Linked DNA regions of Homo sapiens: region 2 is linked to region 1. The links are contacts of gene promoters, found by promoter capture Hi-C in blood cells and fetal thymus (Javierre and others, 2016). All regions are on one chromosome and are shown on one strand. Each heading gives the region's core, a stretch centred on a gene start or on the middle of the fragment in contact. The rest is flanking DNA. Distances are from core to core; before and after follow the strand shown.

Evidence for each region. The method cuts DNA at HindIII sites, captures the fragments that hold promoters and counts their contacts. A CHiCAGO score of 5 or more calls a contact.
Region 2: a contact is called between a fragment that was not itself captured here and the fragment with the promoter of TMEM70 in region 1, in 1 of 17 cell types (non-activated CD4 T cells). The highest score is 6.6, in non-activated CD4 T cells.

The regions. Positions count from the first base shown.
Region 1 is chr8:73,973,979-73,978,716 of GRCh38, reverse strand. It overlaps TMEM70 (transmembrane protein 70), which reads right to left and starts at 2,522. Exons shown (of 3, transcript NM_017866.6): 1 at 2,226-2,522. The coding sequence starts at 2,435. RefSeq lists silencers at 2,174-2,223, 2,389-2,604, 2,654-2,733. The HindIII fragment of the contact is 7,182 bases long and covers 1,938-4,738 here.
Region 2 is chr8:86,504,079-86,508,816 of GRCh38, reverse strand. It overlaps RMDN1 (regulator of microtubule dynamics 1), which reads left to right and starts at 131. Exons shown (of 10, transcript NM_016033.3): 1 at 131-325; 2 at 1,705-1,822. The coding sequence starts at 197. It also overlaps the pseudogene SLC2A3P4. RefSeq lists an enhancer at 217-386. The HindIII fragment of the contact is 1,164 bases long and covers 1,588-2,751 here.

The sequences.
Region 1 (4,738 bases), core at 1,273-3,772:
AAATTTTTTTAAGTTTTTTTTTTTGAGACAGAGTCTTGCTCTGTCTCCCAGACTGGAGGGCAGTGGTGCGATCTCAGCTCACCATTGCAACCTCTGCTTCCCGGGTTCAAGCAATTCTCCTGCCTCAGTCTCCTGAGTAGCTGGGATTACAGGTGCCCACCACCACACCCGGCTAATTTCTGTATTTTTATTAGAGACGGGGTTTCACCATGTTGGCCAGACTGGTCTTGAACTCTTGACCTCAAGTGATCTGCCACCTTGGCCTCCCAAAGTGCTGGGATTACAGGCATGAGCCACCATGCCCAGCTTAAGTTTATTTTTAAAATTGTAATGCAGGTGCAGTGGCTCATGCCTGTAATCCCAGCACTTTGGGAGGCCGAGGGGGGCGGATCACTTGAGGTCAGGAGTTCAAGACCAGCCTGGCCAACATGGTGAAACCCCGTCTCTACTAAAAATGCAAACAATTAGCCGGGCATGGTGTCTGGCGCCTGTAATCCAGCTACTCCGGAGGCTGAGGCAGAAGAATCGCTTGAACCTGGGAGGCGGAGATTGCAGTGGTCCGAGATCACACCACTGTACTCCAACCTGGGCAACAGAGCACGACTCCGTCTCAAAAAAATAAAATAAAATTGTAATGAAAAGAACTTGTCACATGAGGTGACATAAGGAATTCTCCCAAATAATCTACAGAGTTAAAGAAATAAATTGGCTGACAGAATGGCTTGCCTTAATTCTAGTCACAAGTAGAAAACTGCAGAGCTGGAGTTTGTTAGCTTAGCATCCCAGCTCTCAGGTTTCTAGGTCTAGTGTGACCTTGAACAAGTAAAAATAGTAACAGTTTCTTCTACTCCACTGTTAATGACGACATCATTTCCATTCTATTTAAATGCAACACCTTTTCAAAAAATAAATACATTTAGCTGGTGTAATGGAACACGTCTATAGCCCCAGCTACTGGGGAGGCTGAGGTGGATCACTTGAGCCCAGGAGTTTAAGGCCAGCCTGGGCAACATGGCAAGACCCCATCTCTAAGAAATAAAATTTAATTTTACTAAAATAATTTAAGTAAAATACTCCGCAAACTCACATTATATTTAAAGTCCAGGCCTTTTACAAATACTGCTAAAATATTTATATGATAGTATTAAAGAGATCAAATCTTTCTCTAAAGACCTTGTAAATACCGTGTATCCCCTGGTCCTCTTATTTCTTGACAAGAAATAAAATTTGGCTGGGCACAGCGGCTCACGCCTGTAATCCCAACCCTTTGACAGGCCGAGGCAGGAGGATGATTTGAGGTCAGGAGTTTAAGACGAGCCTGGCCAACACGGTGAAACCCCGTCTCTACTAAAAATACAAAAAAAAAATCAGCCGGGGTGTGGTGGAGCGCGCCTGTAATCCCAACTACTGGGGAGGCTGAGGCAGGAGAATCGCTTGAACCCGGAAGGCGGAGGTTGCAGTGAGCCAAGATCACGTCACTGCACTCCAACCAGGGTGACAGAGCGAGACTTCACCTCCAAAAAAAAAGAAATAAAATTTACTTGAAATCCTACATCAAATTTCAAGGGAACAGAAGCGTTCCCCATACATCTGAAAATGAGTTTCACAGTGTATACACTTCAAAATGTAAAAGGCATGCCTAATTCCTCAATGCTGAAATGTAATTAGATTCCAATTTCCATTTTAAGCATTTCTTCCAAGTTTTAACCAGGTTTGCCAATCCTGATATTTTACAGAGTAGAATTAGAAGACAATTTATTCAGATCAAAATAAAAGAATTAACATCTGCATCCCCCTTTTCCCAGGGACCAAAGTAATTCTTAAAAGTACAGCCACCTCATAAAAGTAGAACAAGCTCAAAGTCAGGTTAACCTGGCTCTTTCGGTTCTATTTCCAGGTGCTGCATCCAATTTTTTGCAAATTAACACTTCTAAGCTTCTACTCAAGGGCAGAAAAGGAACTACATATAGTTGTCACCACAAACCCTCTGGATTTGGAACTACCATAAAAGTAAGCACTTTCCAGCCGTTCTCCTGGACTCGCGGAGGCTGAGGACCCCGGGGCCCTCGGCCTGCTACTTCTGCAAGCCCCGCAGAGGGGGCTCCTCCCGCGCTCCAGCCACGGACACCTGGGAGAGGTCGCGAAGAGCCGCTGGGGCTCCCCAGGCCCGACACGACGCCCGCCCTCCCCGCCTCACTTGGGACACCAGACCTCGGACGCCCTACCTGCGCTCGACCCGGACGCCGGAGAAGGCGCGCGGCTCCCGAAGGCCCCGTACTCCAGCCGGCTACCGGCCCCGAAGGCCCGCTGCTGGAGGACGCCCGGGAGACAGAGGCCCGGGGACCTCGGAGCGCGGCGGCCGCACACAATGCAGTCCTCCTTCCGCAGAGAGGCAGTTCGACCGCCCACGGGCTGCCCAACGCCAGAAACAGCATCACGCGGGTGACGAGCGGCTGCGGACGCCCCAGCTGCACGAGTCCACGACTGCGAGACACGGCTTCCCACCCGACTGCCGCACAAGTGGCGCATGCCCAGCCCGGGACGCCTGACTGGCAGCTGGGCTGCCTGCGCGTGCGCAGAATCTGCCGCCCGCCTGCCGCCCGCCTGCCGCCCGCCTGCCGCCCGCCTGCCGCCCGCCTGCCGCCCGCCTGCCGCCCGCCTGCCGCCTTCCCGGCCGCGCGCGTTATCCGCCAGCTGAGCTGGGAGCCCGCCGCTCTGTCCTTGGCTCAGCGGCTCCTCCTTCCTAGAATTTTACCTTCTTTATAACAGTGTGGAGGGGCAGAGGGCTGTACGAGAATGACAATGCCCAGAAGCCAGGGTTAAATATTTTTTTTTCTCGTGGACGACATCACTAAAAACTGTTTCCTTTGCGGAAAATGATTCTAGCCTGTTGGCACAGAAGAAAGAATATACGATTTGAACAAAAATGAGTGATAACTTAATTGAATCATCGGGTTGGAGGAAAATAAATGGAATTGTTCATGTAATATTGATAGGTGTTACCAGATTTGTCTTCGGAAATCATTCACATCCATATACACATTGATTCATTACTTGTTAAAGAGGTACTGAATCTATTGCCAGGACTGAGCTAGGAGCAGAGGATACAAAATACTAGATTAAACTGGGAATCCACAGTGCTTAAACAGTGGAGGAAAATACCTGAAAATTGGCTAGAATATAATGTAATACAATTGAGACACCGCAATATACAAAATGTGGCTGGCCGTGGTGGCTTACACCTGTAATCCCAGCGCTTTGGGAGGTTTAGGCAGGAAGATCTCTTGAGGCCAGGAGTTTGAGACCAGCCTGAGCAATACAGGGAGACCCCGTCTCTACAAAAAAAAAAAAAAAAAAAAAACCTAAAACAAAAATAAGCCACACATGGTAAGTGTGTGCCTGTGGTCCCAGCTACCCAGGAGGCTGACATGGTAGGATTGCTTGAGCCCAAAGTCGAGGCTTCAGTGAGCCAAGACCACACTACTGCACTCCAGCCTGGACCACAAAGTGACACCGTGTCTCAAAAAAAAGAACAAACAAATGCCACAGAAGTACAAAGAAGAACATGATTAATTTTGCCTCAGAATGTCTTCAGACTGGCTTCACATTTAGCTCAGTCTTGAAGGATGAGCATCTTAGTAATAGAAACACACTTTTGTTTACCACTGCAGAACTATACATGTTTTTGATTTGACATGTTATTTGCACCGGAGAGGAACAAATTCATAGTCTAAAATAATGTGTGGCCAGGGGCGGGAGCTCACGCCTGCAATTCCAATACTACGTGGAGGCCCAGGTGAGAGGATCACTTGATTCCAGGAGTTTGAGACCAGCCTGGGCAACAAAGTGAGACCCTGTCTCTACAAAAAATTTTTAAATTAGCTGGGCATGGTGGCACCTGCCTGTAGTCCCAGCTACTTGGGAGGCTGAGGTGGAAGGATCACTTGAGCCCAAGAGGTTGAGGCTGCAGTGAGCCCTGATTGCACCACTGCACTGAGTGACACAGCTAGACCCTGTCTCAAAAATAAAAATAAAAATAAATCAATAGAATATGATCATGTTGGCAACTCCAAATACTGTCTATTGGGGGGAGTATTCAGAAGGAGATAATGATAATACCTCTATATGGATAACTTTATTTTATAAAAAGTTAGCTTCTACTTACATTTTGTTTATTTTTATTTTAATATTTGTTTTAATAGTAGAGATGGAGTTTCACCATATAGCCCAGGTTGGTCTCAAACTCCTGAGGCTCAAGCTATCCGCCCACCTCAGCCTCCCAAAGTGCTGGAATTACAAGGGTGAGCCACTGTGCCCACCTTTTATTTTGTTTTTGAGACAGGGTCTTGCTCTGTCGCCCAGGCTGGAGTGCAGTGGCACCATCATAGCTCACTGCAGCCTTGACCTCCCAGGCTCAAGTGTTCCTCTCACTTCAGCCTCCCAAGTACCTGGGACTACAGGCCACGTCACCATGCCCAGCTAATTTTTGTATTTTTAGTGGATACAGGGTTTCCTTTTGTTGCCCAGGCTGGTCTTGAGCTCCTGGAATCAAGGGATCCTCCCGCCTGGGCCTCCCAAAGTGTCACAGAACCTGAGCTACCACACCTGGCCTATTTACATTTTAAAAACTCTTCTGTTTAGGGTAATTCACTCACAATCAATATTCACTCTATTATTTTGCTGATATATTTAAAATTTTCACATAAAAATGTTTTTCTTAACTATATTAAGAGAACTC
Region 2 (4,738 bases), core at 920-3,419, about 13 Mb before region 1:
TCGGGGTATTTCCCACCCCCTAAGCCCGTGCACCGGAAACCATGGGGGCGGAAGAGGTGCTGGGCAGGAGGCGGAAGAGGTGCTGTGCAGGAGGCGGGCGGGCGCGGTTCTTTCCGGAAGGATTGAATCTCCTTTAGCCCCGCCCGCCTCCGTAGCTGCCTGAAGTAGTGCAGGGTCAGCCCGCAAGTTGCAGGTCATGGCGCTGGCTGCTCGACTGTGGCGCCTTCTGCCTTTCCGACGTGGAGCCGCCCCGGGGTCTCGTCTCCCTGCGGGGACTTCGGGCAGCCGCGGGCATTGCGGCCCCTGTCGATTCCGCGGCTTCGAGGTACCCCCGTGGTCCTGGCTCCCGCTCCTCACTTCCTACTCAGTGGGTTCCGGCTCCCCCTTAACTTAAGTGGTGGCGGCCCCGCGCTGCCTAAGGAATGTGGTGAACCGAGGAAAGAACTCGGGGCCACTGTGCCTGGAACGCCCGGACAGGTCCCTTCCATTTTGCAAACCTCCACTATCCTTAACTGGGGCTGTCAGAGAAGGAGTGGGGTTTGCCCCCACGCGCCCCAGAAGCTGCCTGCTACCCGCCCTTCTTGTGCGAAATGTAAAACAGGACGGGAAAGAACCTTGACCGCTGTGAAATTATTCTCCCTGTAGGCGATGACAGATACAACAGCGCTTGAGGCTGCCCCTTTCAGACTTTGAAAAGTGTGGTGTGTGATTTAAAAAGTTCTACGACTCAGAAGCAGAGATTTCATACTGTTTAGGTTTTTGTTTAAAAATGTTTATTTCTCAGTTGCCCGTTGTATCTGCATAACGTCAATGAAGGTTGTCGGCATGTTGTAGTCTCAGTTCTGGTATTTCTATTAGACTGCTCGTGGGCCTCTGTTTATTCTTGTCAGGGAATTGGAATGGCATTAATGCATATGATATATTTCACATGAACTAGGGGTTTCATTATTTTAAACTCAAATTTTTAACTGCTCAGTTAAAATCTTTCAGAATTATTATGGGACTGATGGTGGGGAGGGGTGGTTAAAATTTGGCATATTCCCCTTCCTTGGAAGTTTATAACCAAATGGGGAGGTTATAGATAATATAGGCAGAGAGATGGGAGGAGTTCTAAGTATGAAACTAGTTAGCCGTAAGTTTTCAAATTGGAACAATGATGAGTTTGAAGTCCCATTTTAGGCCTGGCCCCTTGGCTCAGCCTGTAATCCCAGCACTTTGGGAAGCCGAGGCGGAAGGATTGCTTGAGTCCAGGGGTTTGAAACCAGCCTGGGCAACACAGTGAGACCCTGTCTCTACAAAAAAATTTAAAAGTTAGCCATGTACATTTTTATATGTAGTAATTACTATATATGATAATCTTGTCTGTAAGATTCATTTTTATTATGTGTTGGTGTCTCATATTTTACTTCATACAATTTGCAATATCCATGCATTTGCAAATAAGTTGTAGCAAATAAGTTGTAGCTCTTCCTTTCCAGCAGGAGTGTGATTTTTAGATGAGCGGCGACTCCAGGGGATATCTTTTTCTCAATAAGATACGCTTTGAGATAGTTTTACTAAAGATTTTGATGAAGTAATTTTTAAGCTTCCAGTATTATGATCGATTGCTTTGGGGGTGGGAGAAAATTCATGTAATTTTTGCTTGGGGTAGCAGTACCTTCAAATTTTCAAAGTTTGTAACTCTTAACATAATTGTTTCCATAGGTAATGGGAAACCCAGGAACTTTCAAAAGAGGCCTTTTACTCTCAGCTTTGTCGTATTTGGGTTTTGAAACTTACCAGGTTATCTCTCAGGCTGCTGTGGTTCATGCCACAGCCAAAGGTAAGCATAAATTAGATATATGGAACATTTAGAGTTTTTTTGTGTGCGTACATTCAGAATTTTTATTTTAAAACAAAGAATCAGGGTAATGTTAATAATAGAAAATCCATATGGAAATATTCACAATCTGCTCAGTGAGAAATGGGAAAACAACTTCCCTGCCTAACTGCCAACCTACTGTTTGAGGAGCCAGAAGTTGACGTGAAGTTGGAAGAAGGTCACCTTTTCCAGCTAAACCCCACTCCATAGCTATGTGCATTTTTATTTGAAGTCTCCGTGACCAGAGGAAACAGTGAGAACTGAGAACCAAGATACCGTTATCAGCAAGGGTTTGGCTAAAGGGTCTGAGATGTGTAAGCACCAAGAAGGGGAAGGGAAATTGAGCAACATATGAAAAAGGGGCTGTAGGAACACAGAAAAAATAAGTCAACAATAACCTATTTCCATCCAGAGCAAAGGGACAGTGCACACATATTCATCCTCTCAAGTGTGGGCTACACTGTACATTGACTCATACTATCTCGAACATGGTCTGTTGGAAAGATTGAGACCCCCTAAGGGCACTTGGCATAGGACCACAGTGACATGGTAACAGACATAGACAAGCATGGCATGACCCTAAAGGCAACAACACACCTTTAGATAATAATCGTTCAGAAAAAAATCCCAGAGCTGAGGTTATAAATTCCAAGTTAGCTATAAACATTCTTTGGGGAATTCCTTTAAAGATATGAGTTAAAATAAAACAAAATCAACACCTAAAATCTCCTAAAGCACAAAATGGAGAAATAATGAATCTCTACCAAGAACTGATTATTTTAAGTTTCTCATTTGGATGGCTCTCCCACCAGATAGGTGGTGGGATTACTTCAAAAGTAATGAGTCTCCTACAAGGAGGAGTTGTTTGGTCCAGTGAGGGGGAACAAGCTTTCTAGAAATAACTTTCCCTTCCCTTGACTCCATTCAAAATTAGAACCCATCAACCACCATTAACTACAATGCCCATATTAGTTAATAATCCTAGATTTCAAGTACTACTACATGTAAACTATTAAAAGAAAAAAGTTCCAAAGGAAATCAATAACTTTATTATGTAGGCATATGACTTTTATGGGAAATTAAGAGTTTCCATCTGAAGGACAGAAATTGTCAAGAGGTAATGTGCAGACTTCAGGCACCACATAATATACCCTCCAATAATGAACTACATTTCTCCCTAAATTCTTCATATTGCACGCTAACCTCCCCAGCATGAAATCTTCTACTGTATAACCTCTCTTTAAACACCTCCCTCCAATCTCAATTTCCTTCTGTTTTTATTATTTGGCAAAATTACACTTAAAAAAATAAACATTTCCATCATGGGACATGTATACCTATGTAACAAACCTGCGCATTCTGCACCTGTATCCCAGAACTTAAAAAATTATGTAATTAAACCAGAGGGTAAAATAAATAAAACTCAAGTTAATTTGCCTTGTAGAGCTATATGGAAGTGAGGAAGGTGCTCTTACATAAACCCCGTCTGCCTTCCACACTCATATGTATATCTTCTTCCTGATAAGTCTGAGGTTGGGGGAACTGCGCCTTACTTTTCCTCTCCTATATCCCCTAGTGCGGCAATATTAGAACCCAAGGAAGGAAAAACTGGCAAAGTTGTCATATGCCAAGTGGCCATTGCCTCCTGAAATGAAGGTAGGTTCACTTGGTCTCTCCTAAGCAGAAGAGAATGTCCAGGAAATAAAATATTTAAAAAACCATTGAAAATCCAACAAACCCCAGCCTTGAGGTGCGCATGGAGTGCGTGGGATAAGAAAGGAATCAAGTAGCAGCATTCAGAAGCAGTCCTGGGTTCATCCTGATGAGGTCTCTCATTCAGGGAGAGGTGGCTTTCCCATGCTGGGAGGGAGGTGGAAGGAGGCATGACTTAGACATTGGTGGTGGTCTCCTTAGCAGCCTGGATGCTGTTCATCTCCATGATGCCATCCTTCCCAGATCTATCTGCACCATGTGCCTGCCTTTTAAAGGCCCATGTGATATCCTCAAAAGCCCTGCCATGGGTCTCAGGGACTTTGAAGAAGGTAAAGGTCAAGAAGGTGATGAGGAAGCTGGCGAAGATAATAAAAATACAGGCTCCTAAATAATAAGCAGCAGAGGGGAAGAGCAGTCCGACTAAGAAGTTGGAGGTATAGTTGGAGCAGCCGGCCATTGCAGTCGCAGCTGGGCGGGGGCCCTGGCTGAAGAGTTCGGCCACAATAAACCAGGAAATGGGACCTGGTCCAATTTCAAAGGCCACAAAGACCAAGATAGCCCCGATAAAGACAAAGCTCATCCCATTATACTCATCCTTTAATAACAAACAGTCATGAGCATGGAACAAAAAGCCATCCCTCCAAGGCCTATCATATGCAGGGTCCGCCTTCCTGCCCTTTGCAGCAGAAATAGGGAAACTACAGTGAAGATAGTATTAAACACACGTGCACCAATGGTGGCATAGATGGGCTCTTGAACACCTGCATCCTTGAAGATTCCTGTTGAGTAATAGAACACAACATTGATTCCAGAGAGCTGTCGAGAGAGCTGGAGCACAATGGAAATGATGATTGGCTGTTGGTAGCTGGATACTCTAAAGAACTCCAGCACGGTGACTTGCTTTTCTTGTGACATCCTTGCACTCTCATCTTGCATCTCCTGGTTGTCTTGGGATACATCCTGGGTGCCCCACAACTGCTGGAGGATCTACTTAGCATTCTCCTCTTCTTTTCTGTTAATGAGCAAAAACCTGGGACTTTCAGGGCAAAATGGAAGGGCTGCACTTTGTAGGATAGCAGGAAGGATGGTAAAGCCCAATAATACCGGCCATAGCTCTTCAGACCCAAGGATGAATTTGAATTCCAGACCAAAGATCTGGGCCAC